Regions from separate parts of the Homo sapiens genome. Here all the other regions are linked to region 5. Evidence: promoter capture Hi-C in human tissues and cell types (Jung and others, 2019). All regions are on one chromosome and are shown on one strand. The core of a region is centred on a gene start or on the middle of the fragment in contact, and the rest is flanking DNA. Distances in the headings are between cores, read along the strand shown. Region 1 overlaps ABCC10 (ATP binding cassette subfamily C member 10). Region 2 overlaps ZNF318 (zinc finger protein 318). Region 3 overlaps UBR2 (ubiquitin protein ligase E3 component n-recognin 2). Region 4 overlaps BICRAL (BICRA like chromatin remodeling complex associated protein). Region 5 holds the start of PTK7 (protein tyrosine kinase 7 (inactive)).

What was found. The method cuts DNA at HindIII sites, captures the fragments that hold promoters and counts their contacts. A contact is called where the count stands out against the background at its distance.
Region 1: a fragment that was not itself captured here is called in contact with the fragment with the promoter of PTK7 in region 5 in 2 of the 25 tissues and cell types used here (bladder and dorsolateral prefrontal cortex).
Region 2: a contact is called between a fragment that was not itself captured here and the fragment with the promoter of PTK7 in region 5, in 1 of the 25 tissues and cell types used here (H1 embryonic stem cells).
Region 3: a fragment that was not itself captured here is called in contact with the fragment with the promoter of PTK7 in region 5 in 2 of the 25 tissues and cell types used here (adrenal gland and aorta).
Region 4: a fragment that was not itself captured here is called in contact with the fragment with the promoter of PTK7 in region 5 in 1 of the 25 tissues and cell types used here (aorta).

Annotation. Positions count from the first base shown.
Region 1 is chr6:43,440,940-43,443,639 of GRCh38, reverse strand. It overlaps ABCC10 (ATP binding cassette subfamily C member 10), which reads right to left. Exons shown (of 22, transcript NM_001198934.2): 9 at 1,680-1,778; 10 at 481-670. Among named protein-coding and RNA genes, the nearest start is that of MIR6780B, 7.7 kb to the right of the region's middle. The HindIII fragment of the contact is 4,033 bases long and covers 1-2,700 here.
Region 2 is chr6:43,358,785-43,361,505 of GRCh38, reverse strand. All of the region lies in intron 2 of ZNF318 (zinc finger protein 318), which reads left to right. Among named protein-coding and RNA genes, the nearest start is that of ZNF318, 9.5 kb to the left of the region's middle. The HindIII fragment of the contact is 8,687 bases long and covers 1-2,721 here.
Region 3 is chr6:42,633,977-42,636,676 of GRCh38, reverse strand. It overlaps UBR2 (ubiquitin protein ligase E3 component n-recognin 2), which reads right to left. Exons shown (of 47, transcript NM_001363705.2): 14 at 1,131-1,259. Among named protein-coding and RNA genes, the nearest start is that of UBR2, 71 kb to the right of the region's middle. The HindIII fragment of the contact is 3,846 bases long and covers 1-2,700 here.
Region 4 is chr6:42,789,056-42,791,755 of GRCh38, reverse strand. The region is part of intron 1 of BICRAL (BICRA like chromatin remodeling complex associated protein); the gene reads right to left. LOC401261 (a long non-coding RNA gene) reads right to left here. Exons shown (of 2, transcript NR_134654.1): 2 at 433-1,340. Among named protein-coding and RNA genes, the nearest start is that of BICRAL, 8.4 kb to the right of the region's middle. The HindIII fragment of the contact is 3,471 bases long and covers 1-2,700 here.
Region 5 is chr6:43,075,011-43,077,710 of GRCh38, reverse strand. PTK7 (protein tyrosine kinase 7 (inactive)) reads right to left here and starts at 1,397. Exons shown (of 20, transcript NM_002821.5): 1 at 1,144-1,397. The coding sequence starts at 1,222. KLC4 (kinesin light chain 4) reads right to left here. Exons shown (of 16, transcript NM_201521.3): 16 at 2,618-2,700. KLC4-AS1 (KLC4 antisense RNA 1) reads left to right here and starts at 1,481. Exons shown (of 2, transcript XR_002956347.1): 1 at 1,481-2,016; 2 at 2,444-2,700. RefSeq lists a silencer at 1,310-1,409 and an enhancer at 1,739-2,262. The HindIII fragment of the contact is 20,814 bases long and covers 1-2,700 here.

The DNA of each region.
Region 1 (2,700 bases), core at 201-2,700, 370 kb before region 5:
ACTCTGTCCAGGGTTACTTCTCATTACTGCAGAGCTTTTTCTCATGCTTCGCTCAATTCCTAATATCTGGCTGGAGCTTCATTTCCTCCTATTTCTCTCCCAGTAAACTTGCAGGTGGTCACATCCCTCTGCATAAAAATCTTTCAGAGTTTAAAAATTTTTGTTTTTACAAAAAGACCATTCTAAACCTGACTCCTTTCTCTTCTCTGAAGATATGAGAATGTTCTCAGAGACCCTGGGCCTTTAAGTTCCCAAGAGCACCCAGTCACAAAGCCCATGAGTCCCAAATACACTGGCATTTTACCAACGTACTCCTTTTCCCTCCTGTTCTCCCAGTTCCTCACACCAGTTCTGTGAAGGCGGGAGGCAGCAATGACTGGCTCAGGGCACACATGCAGCAGGGGGCAGAGTCTGTACTTCACAATCCCCTGCCAGACCTGGGCAGACACCTCCCTCACACGGGGCTCCTGCCCCCATTACCAGCCCGGATGAGGCGCCCGGCCTCCATCAGCAGCACCGCGTCAGCCCTCTCCAGGTACTCAGTGCGGTGGGTGCAGAGCAGCCGTGTGGTGTAGCTCAGCATGCCCAGGATGCACCTGTGCAGCAGGTGGTTGGCCACATCTGCATCCACAGCGGCCAGAGGGTCATCGAGGAGATAGAGCTCCTTTTCCTATGGAGACGTGAGGGTACCGTGGGCACCAGGACCCAAAGGCTCTCCGGAGAAGATCTCAAAGTGATCAGAGAAGACAGTTGAGAGAAACTCTGGGGGCTACCCCTACACTAGCAGAGAAGGAGGTGAGACCTGAGGGTGGACATCCCTTCAGGCAAGAAAGAACAGCACCCCAGGGCCAGCACTCAGCTTTCCTAGGTCCCAGGCCCTCAGCCCATATAACACTTTTTTTTTTTTTTGAGACATGGTCTTGCTCTGTTGCCCAGGCTGGAGTGCAGTGGCATGAACACCACTCACTGCAGCCTCAATTTCCCAGGCTCAAGTGATCCTTCCCACCTCAGCCTCCTGAGTAGCTGGGACTACAGGTGCATGCTATCAAGCCCAGCTAAATTTTTTTGGAGACAGGGTTTCATTCTCATCACCCAGGCTGGAGTGCAATGGTGTGATCTTGGCTCACTGCAACCTCTGCCTCTCGGGTTCAAGCGATTCTCCTGCCTCAGCCTCCCGAGTAGCTGGAATTACAGGCATGTGCCACTATGCCCAGCTAATTTTTGTATGTTTTTCAGTAGCGATGGGGTTTCACCATGTTGGCCCAGCTGGTCTCGAACTCCTGACCTCAAGTGATCCACCCTCCTCGGCCTCTCAAAGTGCTAGGATTACACCAACTAACTTTTTAAAATTATTTTTTGTAGAGACAGGGTTTTGCCACATTGCCCAGGCTGATCTTAAACTCCTGGGCCCAAGCAATCCTCCTGCCTTGGCCTCCCAAAGTGCTGGGATTACAGACCTAAGCCACCATGCCCAGCCTACAAATACTTTTTAAAGGCCTTGAACTCTGCCTTAAATCTGCAAAAGGGGATGAGATGGCCAATACCTCAGGAACATGCAAGGGAGGAGGGAAGGAACCAGATGCTAAGGAAAATATTCCTATCCTCCTAACTCAGCCAAGTTCCCAAGGCTCTGGACTCCCCCCACCTCCCTGCCACTGCAACCTCCATCTTTAACTGACCTGGTAGACAGCACGAGCAAGGGCAATCCGGGCACGCTGTCCTCCGCTAAGGGTGACACCCTTCTCCCCCACCTCTGTCTGGTCTCCAGCAGGCAGGATCTGATGGAACAGGTGCCCCAGTGGGTCAGGGAGCTCCCATTACCTTCTGGCCCACTTCCTATCCCTTTGCAGGAGATAGTGGGAGTCAAGAGAAGTAGGGAGCTTGAGGAGAGTAGACTTAAATTTGGGGTGAGCTAGTCAGAGGAGACAAGACATAATTCCAATAACATCAAGCACTTATTGAACACTATGTGCCTAGCACTTTACAGGCATTCTCTCATTCAAGCCCCAATGTAATCTTATGAAGATGGTATCATTTCCTTTTCTCAGGTGCAACCAAAGCTCAGACAGATTAACTAGCTGGCCCACAGCTAGTAAGGGGCAGGACACAAGTTCAGATTCAGATTCTTAACTACTTTGTTACATTTACTACCCTTTTTTTTTTTTGAGACGGAGTCTCGCTCTGTCGCCAGGCTGGAGTGCAGTGGCACAATCTCAGCTCACTGAAACCTCCACCTCCTGGGTTCAAGCGATTTTCCTGCCTCAGCCTCTCGAGTAGCTGGGACTACAGGCGTGTGCCACCATGCCCAGCTAATTTTTGCATTTTTAGTAGAGACGGGGTTTCACCATGTTAGCCAGGATGGTCTCGATCTCCTGACCTTGTGATCCACCCACCTTGGCCTCCCAAAGTGCTGGGATTATAGGCGTGAGCCACCGTGCCTGGCCTATTACCCTGTCTTTTTAACAGGCAAGGTAGTAAGGTATCTTGGGCAGATTTGATGTAAAAGCTTTTATAGGTTTTTACTTTTTTGTGTGTGTGAGACAGAGTCTTGCTCTGTCGCCCAGGCTGGAGTGCAGTGGCATGATCTCAGCTCACTGCAACCTCCGCCTCTCGGGTTCATGCAATTCTCCTGCCTCAGCCTCCAGAGTAGCTAGGACTACAGGTGTGAGCCATGACACCCAGCTAATTTTTGTTTTTTTT
Region 2 (2,721 bases), core at 59-2,558, 280 kb before region 5:
GTAACCTCAAACTCCTGGGCTCAAGTGGTCCTCCCAGCTCAGTCTAAAGAGTAGCTAGGACTATGGGCTGCACTGCCACACCTGGTGAATTAAAAAATAAATTTTTAGAAATTGGGTTTCTATCTATCTGTGTTGTCCAGGCTAGTCTCCTGACCCCAAGCAATCCTTCTGCCCTGGCCTCTCCAAGTGCTAAGATTACAGGTGTGAGCCATTGTGCCCAGCTTATCGCCTAATTTCTTCTCCTTATTCTGACAGATTGAAGGAGTGGGATTTTTTTCCCTCTGATTTTCTTTAGGGAATAGAAGCAAACAGCTTTCTTGGGGCATTTTTGGGACTCATCAACAGAAAAGAATGGAGAGTTTAGGCTCTGAAGGACCTTTTAAAATATGTATACATTTTTAACAGCTTTATCGAGATGTAATTTGTATACTATATAATTCACCCATTTGAAGTGTACAGTTCAGTGATTTTTCGCATATTCAGAGTTGTGCATCCCTCACTACAATCAATTTTAGAACATTTTTATTACACCAGAAAGAAGCTCTGTTCCTTTAGCCATTACTCCCTCCACCCTACCCCCAGCCATAGGCAATCACTAATCTACTTTCTGTCTCTATAGATTTGCCCGTTCTGGACATTTCATATAAATAGAATCATATAATATGTGGTCTTTTGTGACTGGCTTCTTTCACTTAGCATATTTTTTTTTAAGGTTCATCCGTGTTTGTAGCATTCCTTTTTATTGCTGATAATATTTTATTGTATGGATATACCATGTTTTGTTTATCCATTCATCAGTGGTGAATGAATGGATAACATTTTGATTCTTTTCACTTTTTGGCAATTATGATTAATGCTGCTCTGAACATTGGTATAAAAGTTTTTATATGGACATACATACATTTTTTAAAAACTTGTTTAACAGAGATTTGTAAACACAAAAATGTAGAATAGTACAGTGAAACCCCATGTCCTTATTACCTAACTCCAACAATCAGTTTTTTTAAATAGATAGACTTTATTTTAGAAAACAGTTGAACTTAACCAAGGCTTTCCGGGAGTATCCATCGCTGGACTCTTTCAGGGTATAGGAGATTGTACCCTTTTTAGGGTTCTTACTACAGCCAGTTCTCTTCTCATATCCTTTTGGAGTCCTGGGGAAGGAGGACATGAGCTTCTAATAAGCAACCTGATTTCTGCCTATATGTATGTGATAGCTTTTTTAAGAAAACTGTTTTTATGCCTTTTTTCTGTCTCTACTGGAGATTCCAAGTCTGGACTACAGCTTTTTGAGAGCCATCTCATTTGTAGCTTCTTGATAGTTAGTACTGGTTTAGACCTTGGGCTAGTATGCCGTTTCATGGTGACATGTAATAGTTCTGGTGGGGAGCTGAATGTGGGAGTGTGAATGAACTTGCCACTCCTCATGGAGCCTATGTTTTTTCTCCCTATACTAATATGGTCAGAGACTTTTTGTATGGTAGATGGTGTTTTGGCAATGGAGTGACTCAACTCATGAACATTCCTCTCTGGAAATAGGTGTGTTTATGGCTGACAGACCTATAGAGAAAAATTTTTACCTCAGTTTGATTTCAGAAATCATCCTTGGTTTATTCCCATTTATTCCTATTTCATACTGCATTGAAACCTCAAAATTTCCCAAATTCTTAGGAAGAAGGTGGGTAACAGAAACCTGGATTCCCACAGGTGGCATTCTTGTTAGAGAAGGTAAATAAAGTTTGTCCTTGATAACCTTTCATAAATTTATTCCTAGGTCTACAACTTTGATCAAAGGCAGGCTGGTGAATAAGAAAAGGCAATGTTTTGAGATTCTGCTGGCATAGTCTCAGAGATAGGAAAGCAACTACTAAAAAAACTAAGGAAAAGTCATTTCTAGAAACTCACAACAAAAGTAGCTACTAGAAACTGTAGAAGACACTAATAGTTACCATCCTCTAGATGATAATTCACTCTGGAATGTGAGTGACATGTAAGAACTTTTATTTTTTATTCAGAGTACTTAGAAGTTTTCATACATAAAGTGCTAGAGGATCTTTATTTCTATCTGTGATTTAAATCAGAAACTTTAGTTTTGTGTCATAGCCATAGCCCCTGAGAAGGTTAGCATTATTGGGTGTGGTATAGAATTCTCAGCTAAAAGAATAGCTGTCCCATCCTGGATTTTTACCTCATGCCACAAAGGTCTGAGACCTTTGTATTTAATGAAATAAAAATATATGGTGAACCAAACCATCACTTTCTCTTTTCTAAGCCCAAGATTAGCAGAGTGCTTGTAGATATCCAGAGAAGGCAAAGAGGGTGACAAAACAGGCTGTGAGAGAGCTTTATGGGTTTTAATATGTGAACCATCAAGGCAAAGCATTGGAGAACCTTCTAAATCTTATGAGAAAATCATGCTAATTAGATAAATCAGTAGTTTTTTTAAAAGTTACCATATAGTGATACTTTTTTTTCCCAATTGAATTATTAGAACCTTAATATACAGACTTAAAGTTGGAATTAGTGTGATTTAACTGGGATAGAAGGTCAAGAGCCCTGCTGGTTCTGCTTTTCTAGTACCTCCTTTCTTTTGGTAGCTCCTGAGCACTCTTTACAACCTCTGGAACACAGCTTTAAAACCATTTATCTGAGCCACGTGTGGAGGCTCACGCCTGTAATCCCAGCAGTTTGGGAGGCTGAGGCGGGCAGATCACCTGAGAT
Region 3 (2,700 bases), core at 156-2,655, 440 kb after region 5:
AAGCGTCTCTCTATTAAATTCCTGCTTTGACTCTTGCCCCCTTCATCCATTCTCCATACAGAGCAATTTTAAAAAACATGTAAATTGAATCATGTCACTGTATGGAAAATGGATAAAGGGGGCAAGAGTTGAAGCAGGGAATTTAATAGAGAGATGGTAATCTCTAAAGGCTTCCCACTTCAATTCAAATAAAATGCAGGCTGAGTGTGGTGGCTCACGCTGGTAATTCCAAGACTTTGGGAGGCCGAGGCAAGCAGATCGCTTGAGCCCAGGAATTCAAGACCAGCCTGGGTAACACGGCGAAGCCCTGTCTCTACAAAAAATAGAAAAATTAGCCAGGTGTGGTGGTGTGTGCCTGTTGTCCCAGCTACTTGGGAGGCTGAGGTGGGAGGATCACCTAAGCCCAGGGAGGTTGAGGCTGCAGTGAGCCGGGATTGCACCACTGCACTCTGGCCTGGGCAACAGAGTAAGCTGTGTCTCAAAAAAAAAAAAAACAAAAAAAAAAACAACCATGGCCAAGGCCCCGAAAAATCACTCCTGTGCCCAAATCTCTGTTCTCTACTTCTGTGCTCCAACCACAGACCTTTCTATAGCTCCTAGGACTACCCTAGTCCCTGTCATCACAGACTATAATGCAGCTGTCTTCTCAGTCAGGAATATCATTTACTCATTGTTCCATTAACTTTTACAGATTGTTCAGACCTTACAGAAACCTCCCTAACCTCATAATGTATACAGGCTCTCATCTAGACTTTATCGCCAAAGGAAGGCCAAAATAATTTTAAGACACAGGACAAATGTACCAATAATAAAACTTTATTTTTGAATAAATTTAGAAACTACCATTTTTATATCCTCAAAGTCTAGAAGGGATTATGGAAAAAAAACAAAGATAGTTACATTAGGGAAGAGACAATCTGGATTATTTCTTTCTCTATTTTTCAAGTTTTTCCTCAGGCTGTAGAATTTTAAAATTTTACTGAGTTTATAGGTGGAGAAGGAAAATACGCTGTTTAATGAACTAAGTATCACCACTATTTTCTCCAGATCTCCTTGAAATTTACTTAGGATTCTGCTTATTCCTCCCTCTTCCACTTTCCTCCTATTCCCCGCACCCAGAAGAAACTCACATCTGAAGCACACCAGTCCTGCATCATTGAAATGACATGTGTTAATTTCATTTGTAGTGTGAAGGCTGCTTCCCACTCTGGTTCCATTTCAATATGTTGTCCTACTTGACGTGTAATTGGATCCATTCCCTTAACGGAAGTGAAAAAATTATATATGAATGAAAATAATAGTTGTTCTTTTATATGGAAACCTAAGAAGTAATGTAGGAGAAATATATATTGATTATAAAAACATAGAAGGTATAAGTTTTAACAGGAAACTTCAAGTACTATGAGAAATAATAGCTTTTAAAATTATGTGTTTATATAACATTCTCTAAAATATAAATTTAGAAATCCCAATAAACACATTATTTCAGAGGTATCATCTAAGATCTGTTTTAGGCAATAAAATACTTCAATATTTCACTGCAATAATCCTTCCTTTTTAGCTCTATGGTCTATAGAAAAAATTGTTAAAAGAAATGTGACAAGCTTTTAAAATGTTATTGAATTTATAACTGTATTTTATAATAAAGTTTTAATATTATGTCCTAATATGCAATTAGAAGTTTTCACAGAGCCTGAAAGAAGGCAAAACAATAAATAGCTTTTAATTAAAATTACTGTTCAGAAACTAGCCTAACTATTCTAGTATGTCAGAACTTATTAAACAATAGAGAATACAGAATACTTCAAGTATCAAAAATGACCAAAGTAGCTATTGTTTTCACAGATACATGAAAAACATAGTAGTATTATAATAAACACCCATGAACTACCACCCAACCTAGGAACTAGAATGGTAAGTCAGGCCAGACATGGTGGCCCACGCCTGTAATCCCAGCACTTTGGGAGGCCGAGGCGGGTGGATCACTTGAGGTCAGGAATTCAAGACCAGCCTGGCCAACATGGCGAAACCCTGTCTCTACTAACAATACAAAAATGAGCTAGGTGTGGTGGCGTGCACCTGTAATCCCAGCTACTCGGGAGGCTGAGGCAGAAGAATTGCTTGAACCTGGGAGGCAGAGGTTGCAGTGAGCCAAGATCGCGCCACTGCACTCCCGCCTGGGCGATAGAGCAAACCTCCACCTCCAAAATAAATAAATAAATAAAAATAAATTCAAACAAATAAAAATAAAAATGGTAAGTCAACTTTGGTCATTCCTTTTCTTAAGAAAGCCAGGTGGCTACTAAAGAAATCATAATAGTACTTGCTCAGATTTTTAGAGACGTCACCTATCTTCTTACAGTTATAACTGGTTAAATATACCTGTTCGTTTCTACTTCTAGATTCTGTTTTGTATATAGGGATGTTTCCTAAAAAGAGAATTAAACAGGGGAAAAAGGTCTACACTGTATTATATAAATACCACATGAAGGAGAGAAAAAGAAACATGGAAACATTAAAAAGCAAAATCAAAAACCACTACAGTTTCTCAAATAACTTGACTATACTTCCAAGAAAGCATATTAAAAAAATAAACTTGTAACCTCTAAAGAAAGAACATTAGTGGAAACCAAAGAAATATAAAAGTGGCTGGCGCAGTGGCTCATGCCTGTAATCCCAGCACATTGGGAGGCCGAGGTG
Region 4 (2,700 bases), core at 93-2,592, 290 kb after region 5:
GCAGTGGTTCACACCTATAGTCCTAGCACTTTGGGAGGCCGAGGTGAGAAGACCGCTTGAGCCCAGGAGTTTGAGACACGCCTGTGCAACATAGTGAGTTCTCATCTCAAAAAACAAAAACAAAAACCAAACCCATTAGAACCCATCAGGGTCTCAAACAAGGTGAAGGTTTAACAAATATTATTTCTTTTCCCCCTCATTTTCTTCCCTGTGAAAATGTTTCCATTTCAGGCCAGGACACAAAGTTCAACTCCTAATGAAAAAAAGTGTCCTGGATTTGGGTTCAACTGAAATAAACCATTTCTAGAAAGGCAATATCTTTCATATCTTATTCTCTCACATTCTCAGACTCAGGGCTTTAATTTTAAGTAATGTTAAGTGTTTAATGTGTTTGCAAGATAAGAGAGCCAAATAACCCACAAAAACAGAACATGTTCGGTTTCACAACTTTATTAAAAATAAATTTATAAGTAAACAAATCGTAACTTTATAGATTAAAGTTGATTGGGATTAAGGAGAACCTGGGTATAAGAGGATCTGGTACAGAGAGGTCTCAGGATCTTTTCCTGAGTGGGAGTACATACGAGGTAGGGAAGAGAAAACAACAAACCAGAACAAAGTTGCTGCTCCCAGGTCCTCTTTCATCCTCCACCTTCCCACACAGCATTCTGACAGCCCCTGAGCTCTCCTCAACTGCACTACAAAAGGGCAGGCCACCCCCAGCACAGTCAAGTCCTGAGCTCCCTCTGCTTGTAGCCAGGCACCATGTTAGTGATTTCCACCTCAGGGCTTTCCTTTTAAAATCCACACCCCACATGCCTTTGCAGTCAGCTCTCTCACCTCTCCATACTCATTTCACTCTTCCCCAACTCCCCCAGCCCACCTTCTGCCAGCTCCTTCACTCACTGTATTTTCCTCTTCTACTATACAGAACATTATTCATCAAGCAAGAGCCATGCCATGCAGAAACGCATCTGGTATGCTACTTAAATCATGCCGTTTCACCCGTTTTTCCCCAGATTTGCTCCTCTCACCTTTAACTCAAAGCTATCTTTCTCAGTGAAGAATGTAGACAGCTATTTTGAATTCCATCATCTACTCCATTCTTATTTTCTCTAATCTCACTTTACGGTTATTGTTTAGCCTATTTGGGGAGCAGAGAAAACTCATGAAAAAGGGAATGACAGCAGACTCAAAGAGGAAAGAAAGGGGAAAAGAAGGTGGGGGGGGGGTGCTACATACTTCCATTTGACATTATTTAAATAAAAAATGATTTTCTCGGCAGGATGCAGTGGCTCACGCCTGTAATCCCAGCACTTTGGGAGGGAAAGGTGGGAAGACTGCTTGAGCCCAGGAGTTTGAGGCCAGCCTGGGTGACAAAGAGAAACCCCTGTCTCTACAAAAAAAAAAAAAAAAAAAAAAAAATTAAATTATCTGGGCATGGTGTTGCATTTCTATAGTCCCAGCTACTTGGGAGGCTGAGGTTGGGGGAATCCCTTGATCCCAGGAGGTCCAGGCTGCAGTGAGCTACAATTGTACCACTGCACTCCAGGCTGGGTAACAGTGAGAACCTGTCTCAAAAACAAACAAAAAATGAAACTCAATGCTTATTTCTCTCCTTCCCTGTTCTGTAATCAGACTTTTTTTCTCATCACGTGCACAGATCAGAATGTCAAATGCTATAAGCCGCCACACATTCAATGGTCTTGATTCTTTTTCTCACAGATCCCTCTACTAGTGTAAGATATTGCTGATCTCTAACAGAATACTGTTTTCCTTTTGATTCCCATCATTCTACTCTACCTAGGTTCTCCAAGTACTGAGTCAGCAAATGTTTACTGAGTGCTCAACTTGTTTTGAATGCTGTGCTAAAGGCTTAGAACAAAACAGTAAACATGGGAGCAAATAATGTAATATTCCCAGGTCCTATACTACAATCTCTACGTCTATAGGTGACTTATGCACCCTCAAGCTTGGTACCATGATAAGAAGAGATACTTTCTCTTTAGTTTCAGTAATCTGAAATTTCATTTCTAAAGCAATTTTCTTCCATATGCAAATAACACCTCTATCTGCCACAAATATTTAAGTGTTCATTCTTTTTTTTTTTTTTTTTGAGACAGTCTAGCTATGTCACCCAGGCTGGAGTGCAGTGGGAAGATCTCAGCTCACTCCAATGTCTGCCTTCCAGGTTCAAGCAATTCTCATGCCTCAGCCTCCTGAGTAGCTGGGATTACAGGTGTGTGCCACCATGCCTGGCTATTTTCTTTGTATTTTTAGTAGAGATGAGTTTTGCCATGTTGGCCAGGCTGGTTTTGAACTCCTGGCCTCAAACGATTTGCCTGCCTCAGCCTCCCAAAGTGCTGGGATTGTAGGTGTGAGCCATGGGCCCAGCCTAATTCATTTTTTACTATGGTAAAATATATGTAAGATTTACAATTTTAACCATTTTTTTCCAGGATTGGGAAAACCCTTTATTTCTCTATAGAGTTACTGAATTTTAAATATTTAAAAGTGTTTGGTTGAGTGGCATTACATACATTCACATTGCTGTGAAACCAAGAGCCCTATCCAGCTTTAGAAATTTTTCATCTTCCCAAACTGAAACTCTGCGCCCATTAACTCACTTTAAGCCAGTAATGATTTTCATGGCCCCCACTCTGATTCTTCTCTTGCTTTCCTACTCAGCTAACATTTCAA
Region 5 (2,700 bases), core at 148-2,647:
GAAGGTGATCACCTAGGACAGGTCTCCTCGACAGAGCTCCCCAAGAGAAAGCTGCTTCGAGGACCACCAAGGAGTGTTGTGGAGGGTCGGGGGCTTTATTTCCAGTCCGGGCTATTTGGGATGTGCGGGTGGCTTGGTGCTTTCCTGTAAGGCACTTCAACACCTCAGTGATGACTCTTAGGTGTGACCAAGCCAGGAAATAAAAGCTGCGGGAGTTGGGGGGGCGGTGCTGTCTGCCCTGGTGATGAGGGCCACACCCTCGTTAAAATGCTAAGGCCCCCCCCCAAGAAAAGCCAGAATGAGCTCTTTTTGCCTTTCTTCCCTTAGAAATACTTCCTTTCCTCTGTGAGGACAGTCAGGATGGAAATCCAGGAAGGAGCAGAACAAACCCCGTCCGCACCTTTGCAGCCAGGCCATGCCCGATTTTGGCAGCGGCCTTCACACATTAGTCACCGCGACAGCCTGGGACCCTCGGATCCCCGGATTCGGCCCTGGCACGGAGTGGGCGCAGGGTTCCAGACCAGTAGCTAGAGGCCATGGATGGGGGCGGCCCCTAACTCTTCCCTTCTTCCGCCCTCACCCGCAGGGCCATCTGGGGTCTCAGCTTTGCCCAGGAACTCGGAGGAGGGAAGCCGGGAACGTCGGGTCGGCGTAGGTAACAAAGCTCCGCGCTTTGCGCGCCGCAGGTCTGTCCGGCATCGGGCCCCAAACCAGCAACTCTTACCTGGGCCGACCCTGCCGGGTGGGGTGGGGAATTCCTTTTTCTCCATCGCGCTCCCCACGGTGGGTGCGGATGGTCTTTTCTCCCCCGACAAGAAACTCCCCATCTGGGCCCGAGAGCCAGCAACTCTCGGCAGTTCTCGAGCAAACTCTCGGCTCAGACCAGAAAAACTCAGGGAGGCTGGAAATGCGTCCCCGCGGCGCGAGTGGGAGGGGTACCCTGACCGCGTCCCTGGAGGCTTCGCCAGCCTCCCGACACCCGGGCTCCTTGCGCCCTTCCGCCGCAAGCCTGCACCCCCAGCGAGCCTCTCCACTACTCCAGGGCCGTTCCAGCCGCCCAAACCCACCGCCCCGGGCGCAGCCTTTTGCCCACGGGACTCCCGCGCTTCCCAAGCTCTGTGCCCCCAACTCTCGGGTACTCACCGCCCAGCAGCGGCAGCAGCAGGACGCTGAGCAGAGGCAACCGGCGGGGTCTGGCCGGGGATCCCCGCGCAGCTCCCATCGCGGCGGGCTCAGGAAAAGGAGCTGAGGGCGCACGGCGGGCGCGCAGACTGCGCTCCGCGGCGGGCACAGGAGGCGGAGCGCACCGGAGCGCGGGCGCCGCAGCAGCAGCCGCAGCCGGAGCCCGACCCCGAGGCGTCCCGAGGCGTCCCGAGCCGGAGCCGCGCGCGCCCAGTACCTCCGAGTCCCCGCGCGCCGCCGCCGCCGCCGCCAAGCCCCGCCCCACGACGCCCCCTCCCCTCCGGCCCCCGCACGGCGCCCCGCCCCCTCGACGCCCCCTCCTCGCCGAGGCGGGGAGGAGCTCAGTAGGGGGAGGGGTCTGGAGAGGGATGGAGAATAGAGAGAGCAAGGCTCAGGGAAGTGCAGGGGACCTGAGTATTTGCTGTACCCACCACCGACTCTGCAGGGATCCGGGAGAACCTAAGTGACTTGTGCGATTCCGTGGACCCTGGGGAGAATGGTCCATTCTGGGCATACCTGGAGGCTCTGGCCAACAGTTCCCCCAGAATTCTCCAGGTGGGGGCAGGGGAAGAGGCGGGCCCCGCCAACTCTTCAGCAACCCAAAATCTTAACGGCAGACCCAGAACAGCAGGGTGTCCTTAATGTCCCCAAGTAACCTGAAGATGCTGTGTAGCCCGGAGAGGGGCTGAAGTGTGCATGACTGGGGTCTGGTTTGGCTGTAGACCAATCTGAACCCAAAGGTAGAAACACGCTGGGCTCTGAAAGCCAGGCTGAAGTCTGCTAACTGACAAATTCATCCCAAGTCCATCTCCAGGCAGTCTGGGCTGTGTCAGGGTATGGCCAAGTCTCCAGCTGTGGGGAGGCCCAGCACAACCCTTGTTCCAGGCACCCCCACCCCCAGCGCCACCACCCCCACATTCTTTCTTTGTTGTGAAAGCAGCAAGGGGTGTAGGAGGCGGGTCAGGAGGAGTCAAGCTTTAGAAGATGGGCCCCAGCTGCTGCTCAGGCCTCCAAGATATGCTGAGAGGGGATGGATAGTGCCTTGTCTCCCCTCTGGTTCCGGAGGGCCCCCCAGGCCTGTTTAGACCTCCCTTCCCCCAAGCAGCTGGGAGGAGGAATGGCAGCCACAGAGGGCCTCACAGCCAGGAGAAGTGGCGCCAGGACTCCAGGGTCCTGCCACATGGCCACCACATGTCCCTGACAACCCAGTCCACAGCACCTTCTCCTTGGGTTGTGAGCCTCCTTCTTCCCCATCCCCCAGATGCCTTCCTACAGGCCCTGCTGGAGATGATACAAACAACGGGAGGAAGAGAGGAGAGATCCAAGAATCAACACTCCTCCTGCTGCTCCATCCATCACTGCCCCTCACCTTCTGTGAAGGGCCCCAACACAAGCCCTGCTTCATACCCTCTTCAATCAGGACTCAAGTCACAGAAAGGTTACCTGATTCTTTTATTTAAGAAAAGTGAAATACATGGACCTGAAGTGAGACAGCAGAGGGAGGGAGTAAGAGCGGCC